Regions from separate parts of the Homo sapiens genome. Here region 2 is linked to region 1. Evidence: promoter capture Hi-C in human tissues and cell types (Jung and others, 2019). All regions are on one chromosome and are shown on one strand. Each heading gives the region's core, a stretch centred on a gene start or on the middle of the fragment in contact. The rest is flanking DNA. Distances are from core to core; before and after follow the strand shown.

What was found. Contacts are between HindIII fragments. The study calls those that stand out against the background at their distance.
Region 2: a contact is called between a fragment that was not itself captured here and the fragment with the promoter of GTF2I in region 1, in 2 of the 25 tissues and cell types used here (pancreas and spleen).

Annotation. Positions count from the first base shown.
Region 1 is chr7:74,654,157-74,659,026 of GRCh38, reverse strand. GTF2I (general transcription factor IIi) reads right to left here and starts at 1,309. Exons shown (of 35, transcript NM_032999.4): 1 at 959-1,309. RefSeq lists silencers at 150-669, 740-1,029, 1,050-1,229, 1,600-1,759 and enhancers at 1,330-1,379, 1,400-1,519. The HindIII fragment of the contact is 40,491 bases long and covers 1-4,870 here.
Region 2 is chr7:74,139,348-74,144,048 of GRCh38, reverse strand. No RefSeq gene overlaps it. Among named protein-coding and RNA genes, the nearest start is that of EIF4H, 33 kb to the left of the region's middle. RefSeq lists an enhancer at 4,695-4,701. The HindIII fragment of the contact is 5,476 bases long and covers 191-4,701 here.

The DNA of each region.
Region 1 (4,870 bases), core at 60-2,559:
GCACCCCACCTGTGAACATCCCCAGCCGCAAATCAGCGCAAATCCATAACCTAGGGAGGACAAAATTCGCTACACGAAAAAGCAAAAGCTGGATTAAGAAAAAGTGGAGAAGTCGGGGAGCGGGAAGGAGACAGCTTTTTCCATTTCATTTTCCTTCTTCCTCTGCACTCCCGTCGTCTGGGTGCTGGCTGAACCCAGACGGCTTAATTTTCATGGCCTAAAGCTGAAGTTTTCCTTCCGGTCATTGTGTTTATTTCCCCCAAAGAACAGGCCCCGCGGGGCAGGCGCGCCGGGCCGGCCCGGGACAAAGCCCACTGCGGACTCCACCTGGGAGCGGGGCGGGGCGGGGGACAGCGCTCCCGCTCCCCCGCCCGCCGCAGTTACCAGGCAACGCGCGGCCCCGCCCCCGCGCCGGTTGGCCAATCCCGCGCGTCTGCTGCCCCGGCGCAGGAGCCCCAGATACACCAGGCGAGCGCGACCCCACGACGGCTCGGGCCTGGCACCGCGCGCGCCCCCGCACCGCCTAGCCGGCCAATCAGCGCGGCGGGGCATGCGCAGCCCGCAGGGCCGCTCGCTCGCTCGCGCGCGGGATCGCACGCGCGAGGCGCCCCCCCACCGCACGCCGGTCGGCGCGCGCGCCCCTCCCCCACGCGCACTGAGGCGCGCGCGTGCCACTGTCGTCCCCCGCGACCGCGTCCGTGCCGCCCCACCCCCATCGCCTCGTTTCGGCCACTGCCAAGGCCGGCGGGGCTCGAGACCCGGCGAGGCGGTGGGGGTGGGGGTAGGGGGAGGCGGCACGGGCGCCCCCCAAGGCCCCACACCGCGCGCGGCGGGCCGCGGCTCCCAGGCCCCTGTCCCTGCAGGCCCCGGCGGGGCAAAGTCTCTAATAAAGGCCCCCGCTCGCAATGGCCCCCGAGGCGGGGGCGGGGGGCGCGGGGATGAGGCGAGAGGGACTCACCCGAGTGCGGCCGCCTCCAGGCAGCTCCGGGGCCGGGGGTGCCGAGGGGAGGCGAGTGTGGGCCGCGCGCGGGCTGCGGCCGCCGCGGAGCAGCCTCGGCTGAGGGGAGCTGGCGAGCGGACGGGAGGCGAGAGGGGGCGAGGGGCCCGTGCGTGTCGGTCGCGCTCCTGTCACCGCCGCATGGCCGCCCCGCAGGCAGGGCCTCGCTCAGCGCCTTGATCCGATCACTGGGGGACAGAGGCAGAGGCCGGGGTGACCGCGGCAGGCGGGCGGCCGCGGCTGGAGAGCGCGTGCGGGGAAGCGGGGGGGCGACCGGTGGCCCCTTTTCTCTGCTCTCCCAGCTTCTCTCTCACCCTCCTCCTCCTCCTCCTTTTTTTTTTCTTTTTTTTCTTTTTTTTTTTTTTTTTTTTTTTTTTTGTTCCTCGAAGGCGCGTTGCGCCTGCGCATCCGCAGCGCCGCCCAGCGGGAGTTGTAGTTTCGGATGCGTTCCCCGTCAACGCGGCGGCGGCGGTCGTGGACTACAACTCCCAGGAAGCACCGCGCCGGCTAGCCCCGAACCCGAGGACGAGGCAAGCGCGGCGCCCGGCCCTCTCCAGCAAGGGCTGTCAATGGAGGCGAGGGTGGTGGGAGCGAGAACATGGCTGCACCTGGGGCCTGCGCGGCCGCCCGGGTGGGGGAGGGGAGCCGGGGTGCAGAAACGGAAATCTGGACGGGTGGTGGCTCCGGCGTCGTCCCCACCGAGCGCCAGCCGCCGTCCAAGTCCGCCACTTGCTCTTGCACCCCACATTCCTTGCAAATTGCGAGGCAGGGAAGCTGCAAAAGCCGGGGAGCCCCGGGCTGGGCCGTCGCCCTCCTTGCTCTGCAAAAGGGGAGTCCTTCCGCCTTGCACCACCCTCCAGGACACAAAGAACTCCTCTCTAGTGTTTTCCAAGCTGGCCTCCAAAGAGACCGTTGCCCCCAAGTTCGGACAGGCGAGAGGGGAGGAGACCTTGTGTTTTAATTCCTCCCCCAGACCCTCCGCCTCTATCTCTCCCTCAGGATTTGGAAGGAAACTTGCAAGGGAGTGGGAGCAGAAATCCTGACTCGTAGCTCCTGTTTTGTTCTGTCAACCGCGATGCGATTTAACTCAAACTCCTCCCCCTACCACTATTTTTTGCTTCTCAACTTGAATTAGCCGGTGGGTTTTGAAAATGGAGAGACATTACTGTTCACCTAAGTTAAACTCCAAAACTTTACAACCCCGAGGCCGACGATTTTTAGATGTTTATGTAAAGCACGAGATTGAGTGGTTTTTTGATTCCCGCCCGCCCCCCCACCCAGTACCACCCACTGGGGATTCGGGCCACGACGGCCATCCTCCCCCCACCCGCCGCTTCTCGGTAGGTGGCGACCACGACGCTTTTTCCAGCCTCCAAGCCTTTGTCGCTAGCGAGAAAACTTTCCGAGCAGCCAGTCTTTTGATGTGGGTTCCAAAAACCTTTCCTTTCAATCTGGGTTCTCCGATTGGCATTCCCCATCGTCTCTCTTGCACAGACCGCACCCAATAAAGCCTCCTCTAGAATTTTCATGTTGGATTTTTTTTGAAAAATACATGGAGAGCGTAAAGCTCACCGGAGAAGCAATCTGATTACAGAAGCCTGAATTTTTGCGATTTCCCGGACAATGTCTAGGATCCCTTCGGTCCTTGCCTAATAAGATTGTGACTCTCCTTTGTCGATTGTCTCGAAAGTCATTCATTAAGTTTGCACAAGAGCAACTTTCTTTTTGCACTTGTATTTCATTGACATTTAGTAATATTTAATTAAATTCTCTATTCCCAATACCACGTGCCACTGGCATATATTTAGGAACAAATTTAACTCTTGAGAAGCCTATAACTCACTCTAGTAAGAGCAGCCAGCCTACGAGATGCAGATTTCAGCTGCTGTGGACTTCAGTGAGTATCTTTTGTTGAGAGAGTGGTTTCTCCACCTGGAGGGGTCAGGGAAAGGATTTCCTGGGTATAGTGGAGTCGTGGAGTAGAATTTGGGGGGATGTTACAAAGTGAGTTAGCAAGGCAGAAGTTTATTTAGCCAAGATGACTCTTATCATCGTGAAAACGTTTGGAAGGTAGTTCCTTTCTTCTATGAATTTGTTTAGTGGTTCACAGTGGAATTTTTTTTTTGAGACCGAGCCTCGCTCCGTCACCCACGCTGGAGTGCAGTGGCGCGATCTCGGCTCACGGCAACGTCTACCTCCCGGGTTCAAGTGATTCTCCTGCCTCAGCTTCCTGAGTAGCTAGGATTATAGGCGTGCACTACCACGCCCAGCTAATTTTTGTATTTTTAGTAGAGACGGGTTTCTACTAAACATGTTGCCCAGACTGTTCTCGAACTCCTGACCTCAAGTGATCTGCCTTCCTCAGCCTCCCAAAGTGCTGAGATTACAGGCGTGAGCACCGCACCGGGCCCACAGTGGAATTTTGCTGCCTCTTCATAAACAACTCCAACTTCTTTGAGACTGAAGCAATTCCTAAAACGGTTAGGTCAACATGAGCTGGTTTTGAATTACCTCTAGTCAGAAAGCTGTCTCTGTTGAGGCAATGTGTATGCAGACAAAGCGTTTTTCTGAGCATTTTGCCATTAAGGTTTGTAACCCTCAAATTCATGTGTTACAGTCATAAAGATCTTGCGTGTTCTGTCTTCATTAAGGTCTGGCTCACTGCGGCTTGTTGGAACACTTGTCAACCAATTTCTCCTTCATCTTAGTGGCATAGATACTACATTAATTGTGGCCATTGTTATAAATCACTTTGGATACTATCTCTCTGCAAAGCTGGGGTTTTGTTTTACTTTTTTTTTTTCCTGTTTTTGAGACAGGGTCTTACTGTATCACCCAGGCTGCACTGCAGTGGTTCGATCACAGCTCACTGCAGCCTCCAACTCCAGATTCAAGCCATCCTCCCACCTTAGCCTCCCAAATGCCTGGGACAACATGTATGTGCCACCACACCCAGCTAATTTCGTTTTTTGTAGAGACGGGTCTCACTATGTTGCCCAGGCTGGTCTTGACTTCTTGGGCTCAAATAAGCCTCCTGCCGTGGCCTCCAAAGTGCTGCGATTACAGGCATGAGGCACTGCACTGGGCCCAGGTTTTTTTTCAAATGTAGGATCAGATTACTGTTTTGGGGATTGGGCAACAGAAGAAAAATAATAGTTGATTTGTGTCTAAAAATGATGTAGTAGGAAGTCCTCCTTTATTTTATTTATTGATTTTTTTGGGAGGGGACGGGGTCTTACTCCGGTGCCCAGGCTGGAGTGCATGGTGCGATCTTGGCTCACTGCAACCTCCAACTCCTGGGCTCAAGCGATTCTGCTGCCTCAGCCTCCCGAGTAGCTGGGATTACAGGTATGCACCACCATGCCCGGCTAATTTTTGGATTTTTAGTAGAGACAGGGTTTCACCATGTTGGTCTGTCTGGTCTCAAATTCCTGACCTCAAGTGATCTGCCTGCCTCAGCCCCCCAAGGTGCTGAGATTACAGGCGTAAACCACTGCACCCAGCCAGGAAATCCTCCTTTAAAGACTAGAATCGGGCTGGGCACAGTGGCTCATGCCTGTAATCCCAGCACTTTAGAAGGCCGAGGCAGGCAGATCACCTGAGGTTAGGAGTTCGAGACCAGCCTCAGCAACATGGAGAAACCACATCTCTTCTAAAAATATAAAATTAGCCGGGCGTGGTGGCGCATGCCTGTAATCCCAGCTACTCAGGAGGCTGAGGCAGGAGAATCGCTTGAACCTGGGAGGGAAAGGTTGTTGTGAGCCGAGATCATGCCATTGCACTCCAGCATGGACAACAAGAGCGAAACTCCGTCTCAAAAAAAAAAAAAAAAATACTAGAATCACAGGATGCATATACCAAGAGATGCAGACT
Region 2 (4,701 bases), core at 1,679-4,178, 520 kb after region 1:
GTCTGTACTAAAAATACAAAAAAATTAGCCAGGCGTGGTCACGGACGCCTGTAGTCCCAGCTACTCAGGAGGCTGAGGCAGGAGAATGGCGTGAACCCGGGAGGCGGAGCTTGCAGTGAGCCAAGATCGCTTCACTGCACTCCAGCCTGGATGATATAGTGAGACTCCATCTCAAAAAACAAAACAAAACAAAACAAACAACAACAACAAAAACACTAGGGAAGGTAGTGAAATAAGTGGTCACTTTCTGTGAGGCTTTCATTCATGATCACTGAATCCACATCTTACATACGTTAATCAAGTTTAGCCTAAAGCTGCTTCTTTACATATTTCAATTTGGCCTAAAGGTTTTTCTGTACATTGTGAACTGTAACAAGCGGAGGTATAACTCGGCCATAGCCCACACCCTGTGCCAATCACTGAGTTTTGGCCAGTCAGATGTAGCCAACTGTTTGAGCCATATTCAAATAAGGCAAATGCCGACCTGTAGCCAATCCAGTTGTTTTTGTACCTCACTGACTTCTGTATGTCATTTCCCTTTGTCTATAAATCTTCTTCCATCACATGGCTGCACTGGAGTCTGTCTGAATCGGCTGTGATTCTGGGGGCTGCCCGATTCACAAATTGTTCATTGCTCAATTAAACTCCCTTAAATTTAATTTGGCTGAAGTTTTTCTTTTAACACATGTGAAAGGAGGGAAAAAGGAACAGTCAATTATGAATTCATCTTGTGCTAAATATATCTGTATTTTACACAAGATAAAGTAAACACAGAGTAGAGGAAGAAGTCAATTATGCTTTTGTCTTAGGGTGGGGGTAAGTATGATTTATTATTATTATTTTTTTCTGAGACAGAGTCTCACTTTGTCCCCCAGGCAGGAGTGCAGTAGTGTGATCTCAGCTCACTGCAACCTCCGCCTCCCGGGCTCAAGCAATTCTCCTGCCTCAGCCTCCTGAGTAGCTAGCATTACAGGTGTGTGCCACCACGCCCAGCTAATTTTTGTAGTTTTTAGTACAGACAGGGTTTCACCATGTTAGCCAGGCTGGTCTCGAACTCCTGACCTTGTGATCTGCCTACCTCAGCCTCCTAAAGTGCTGGGATTACAGGTGTGAGCCACCGCACCTGGCCTGGAAGTATGATTTAAAAAAAAGAAAAATATTGGCCGGACGCGGTGGCTCACACCTGTAATCCCAGCACTTTGGGAGGCCTAGGCGGACGGATGATGAGATCAGGAGATTGAGACCATCCTGGCTAACATGGTGAAACCCTGTCTCTACTAAAAATACAAAACATTTAGCCGGGCGTGGTGGCAGGCGCCTGTAGTCCCAGCTACTCGGGAGGCTGGGGCAGGAGAATGGCGTGAACCCGGGAGGCGGAGCTTGCAGTGAGCCAAGGTCGTGCCACTGCATTCCAGCCTGGGTGACAGGGCAAGACTCCACCTCAAAAAAAAAAAAAAATTATTGTTATTTTTTTGAGACAGAGTTTCACTCTTGTGGCCCAGGCTGGAATGCAATGGTGCAATCTTGGCTCACTGCAACCTCTGCCGCCTCAGCTCAAGTGATTCTCTTGCCTCAGCTTCCCAAGTAGCTGGAATTACAGGCATGTGCCACCATGCCTGTCTAATTTTTTGTCTATAGTAGAGACGGGGTTTCACCATGTTGGTCAGGCTGGTCACGAACTCGTGACCTCAGGTGATCCCTTGGCCTCTCAAAGTGTTGGGATTACAGCCGTAAGCCACCACGCCCGGCCATGATTTTTTTTTTTTTTTTTTTTTTTGAGACAGGGTCTTATTCTGTTGCTCAGGTTGGAGTGCAGCGGTGCGATCACACCTCACTAGAGCCTCGACCTCCTGAGCTTAAGCAATACTCCCAATGCAGCCTCCTGAGTAGCTGGTACTACAGGTGTGCACTACCACACCAGGCTAATTTAAAATCTTTTCCGTAGAGACAGCCTCTCACTGGGTTGCCCAGGGTGATCTCCAACCCCTGAGCTCCAGCAATTCTCTCACCCCAGCCTCCCAAAGTGTTGGAATTACAGGTGTGAGCCCCCATGCCTGGCCAGATTTCTATTTTTTTATTTGTCCTGTACCTGTGAAGGTAAGCTGAATTTACATGGTCAGGGTGAGGGAAGCCACCTGTGGAGATACGTGGCATTCAATCTTGCAGCTATCTGGTTAGGAACAAAAGAAAATGCAGTTTCCTGTATGACTCAGTTCCTAAGCTTAGCTTTTTGCCCTTTGACATAGTGAGTTTGGGGTCTGGTGATTTTATTTTTCTTTCACACTGTTACTGGAAAGGAGTCCCAATCAAGACCCCAAGAGAGGGTTCTTTTTTAATCTTTTTTTTTTTTTTTTTTTTTTGAGACAGGGTCTCACTCTATTGCCCAAGCTGGACTGCAGTGGCGCCCTCTGCCTCCCGGGTTCAAGTGATTCTCCTGCCTCAGCCTCCTGAGTAGCTGGGATTACAGGCACGTGCCACCACGCCCGGCTAATTTTCTTGTATTTTTAGTAGAGACAGGGTTTCCCCATGTTGGTCAGGCTGGTCTCAAACTCCTGACCTCATGATCCACCTGCCTCGGCCTCCCAAAGTGCTGGGATTACAGGCGTGAGCCACCACACCCAGCCAAGAGAGAGTTCTTGAATCTCACGCAAGAAACAATTCCAGGCGAGTCCATGGAGTAAAGTGGAAGCAAGTATATTAAGAAAGTAAAGGAATAGGCTGGGCACAGTGGCTCACACCTGTAATCCCAGCACTTTGATAGGCCAAGGTGGGCGGATCATTTGAGATTGGGAGTTCAAGACCAGACTAGCCAACATGGTGAAACCCTGTCTCCACTAAAAAATACAAAAACTAGCTGGGCGTGGTGACATACGCCTGTAATCCCAGCTACTTGGGAGGCTGAGGCAGGAGAATCGCTTGAGCTGGGGAGGTAGAGGTTGCAGTGAGCCAAGATTGCACCACTGCACTCCAGCCTGGATGACAAAGTGAGACTCCATCTCACAAAAAAAAAAAAAAAAAAGAAAGTAAAGGAACAAAGAATGTCTACTCCATAGGCAGAGCATCCCCTAAGGTTGCTGGCTGGATATTTTTTATAGTTATCTCTTGATTACATGCCCAACAAGGGTGGATTATTCATGAATTTTCTGGGAAAGGCACGGGCAATTCCTGGAACTGAGGGTTCCTCCCCACTTTTTTTTGAGACAGAGTCTTGCTCTGCCACCCAGGCTGGAGTGCAATGGTGCAATCTCAGCTCACTGCTACCTCTGCCTCCTGGGTCCAAGCAATTCTCCTGCCTCAGCCTCTGGAGTAGCTGGGATTACAGGCGCCCGCCACCATGCCCAGCTAATTTTTGTATTTTTAGTAGAGACAGGGTTTCACATCTTGGCCAGGCTGGTCTTGAACTCTTGACCTTGCAATCCACCTGCCTTGGCCTCCCAAAGTGCTGGGATTACAGGCATGAGCCACTGCGCCCGGCCGGTTCCTCCCCTTTTTAGACAATATAGGGTAACTTCCTGATGTTGCCACGGCATTTCTAAACTGTCATGGCACTGATGGGAGTGTCTTTAGCATGCTAATATATTATAATTAGCACATAATGAGCAGTGAGGACGACCAGAGGTCACTTTCTTTCTATTTTTTGAGATGGAGTTTCACTCTTGTCATCCAGGCTAGAATGCAATGGCACGATCTTGGCTCACTGCAACCTCCGCCTCCCGGGTTCAAGCAATTCTCCTGCCTCAGCCTCCTGAGTAGCTGGGATTACAAGCATGTGCCACCACGCCCAGCTAATTTTTTGTATTTTTAGTAGAGACGGAGTTTCTCCATGTTGGTCAGGCTGGTCTCAAACTCCTGGCCTCAGGTGATCCGCCCGCCTGGGCCTCCCAAAGTGCTGGGATTATAGGCGTTGAGCCACCGCACCCAGCCTACCAGAGGTCACTTTCATCGCCACCTTGGTTTTGGTGGGTTTTGGCCGGCTTCTTTGCTGCAACCTGTTTTATCAGCAAGGTTTTTTGTCACCTATGTCTTGTGCCACCCTCCTGTGTCATCCTGTGACTGGGAATGCCTCACCTCCTGGGAAAGTAGCTCAGTGGTGATGCAGGGTTTTTCTAGGCACCTTCGCTGGACTCATGGAAGGGATGCCCCATCTACTCAGCCCCCTGTGCTCAACCCCTTGCAGGAGGGAGCACACAAGTGACTAAGTGTGGGATCTGGCCAGCTGGCTTCTCCAGGCACCAACACAGGAGCAAGCTGTATGCAGGGCCCATGGCCAGAGCAGGCATGTCACCTTGAGGGGAAAGCAGCAGCACCTAGGTGAGGGTGCCCGTGTCCCCGAAGCTGCAGAGGGGGTGTTATTACAGTGCTCCTTTAGTTCTGCTGTCCACAGATGGTGACATGTCAGCAGATCAGCTGGCCCCTTGCCTCATCACATGGGGACAGCTGCCCTTCACAGGCGAGGGCAAAGGCCCAGTGTGACAGCCTTTCTGGGTATCCTCACTCACTGGGTCCCAAGCTCTTGTCCAGCATCCAGGAAGAATGAAGTTACACGGACGATTGAAGGATGATGAAGGTGGAGAATTTTATTGAGCAATGAAAGCGACTCTCAGTGGAGAGGGGAGCTGGAGAGGGGATGGGAAGTGCAGGCTGCCTTCCCCGAAGTCAGGTCGTCTTTTCCCCTGCTGACTGAGTCTGGAGCCTTTATAG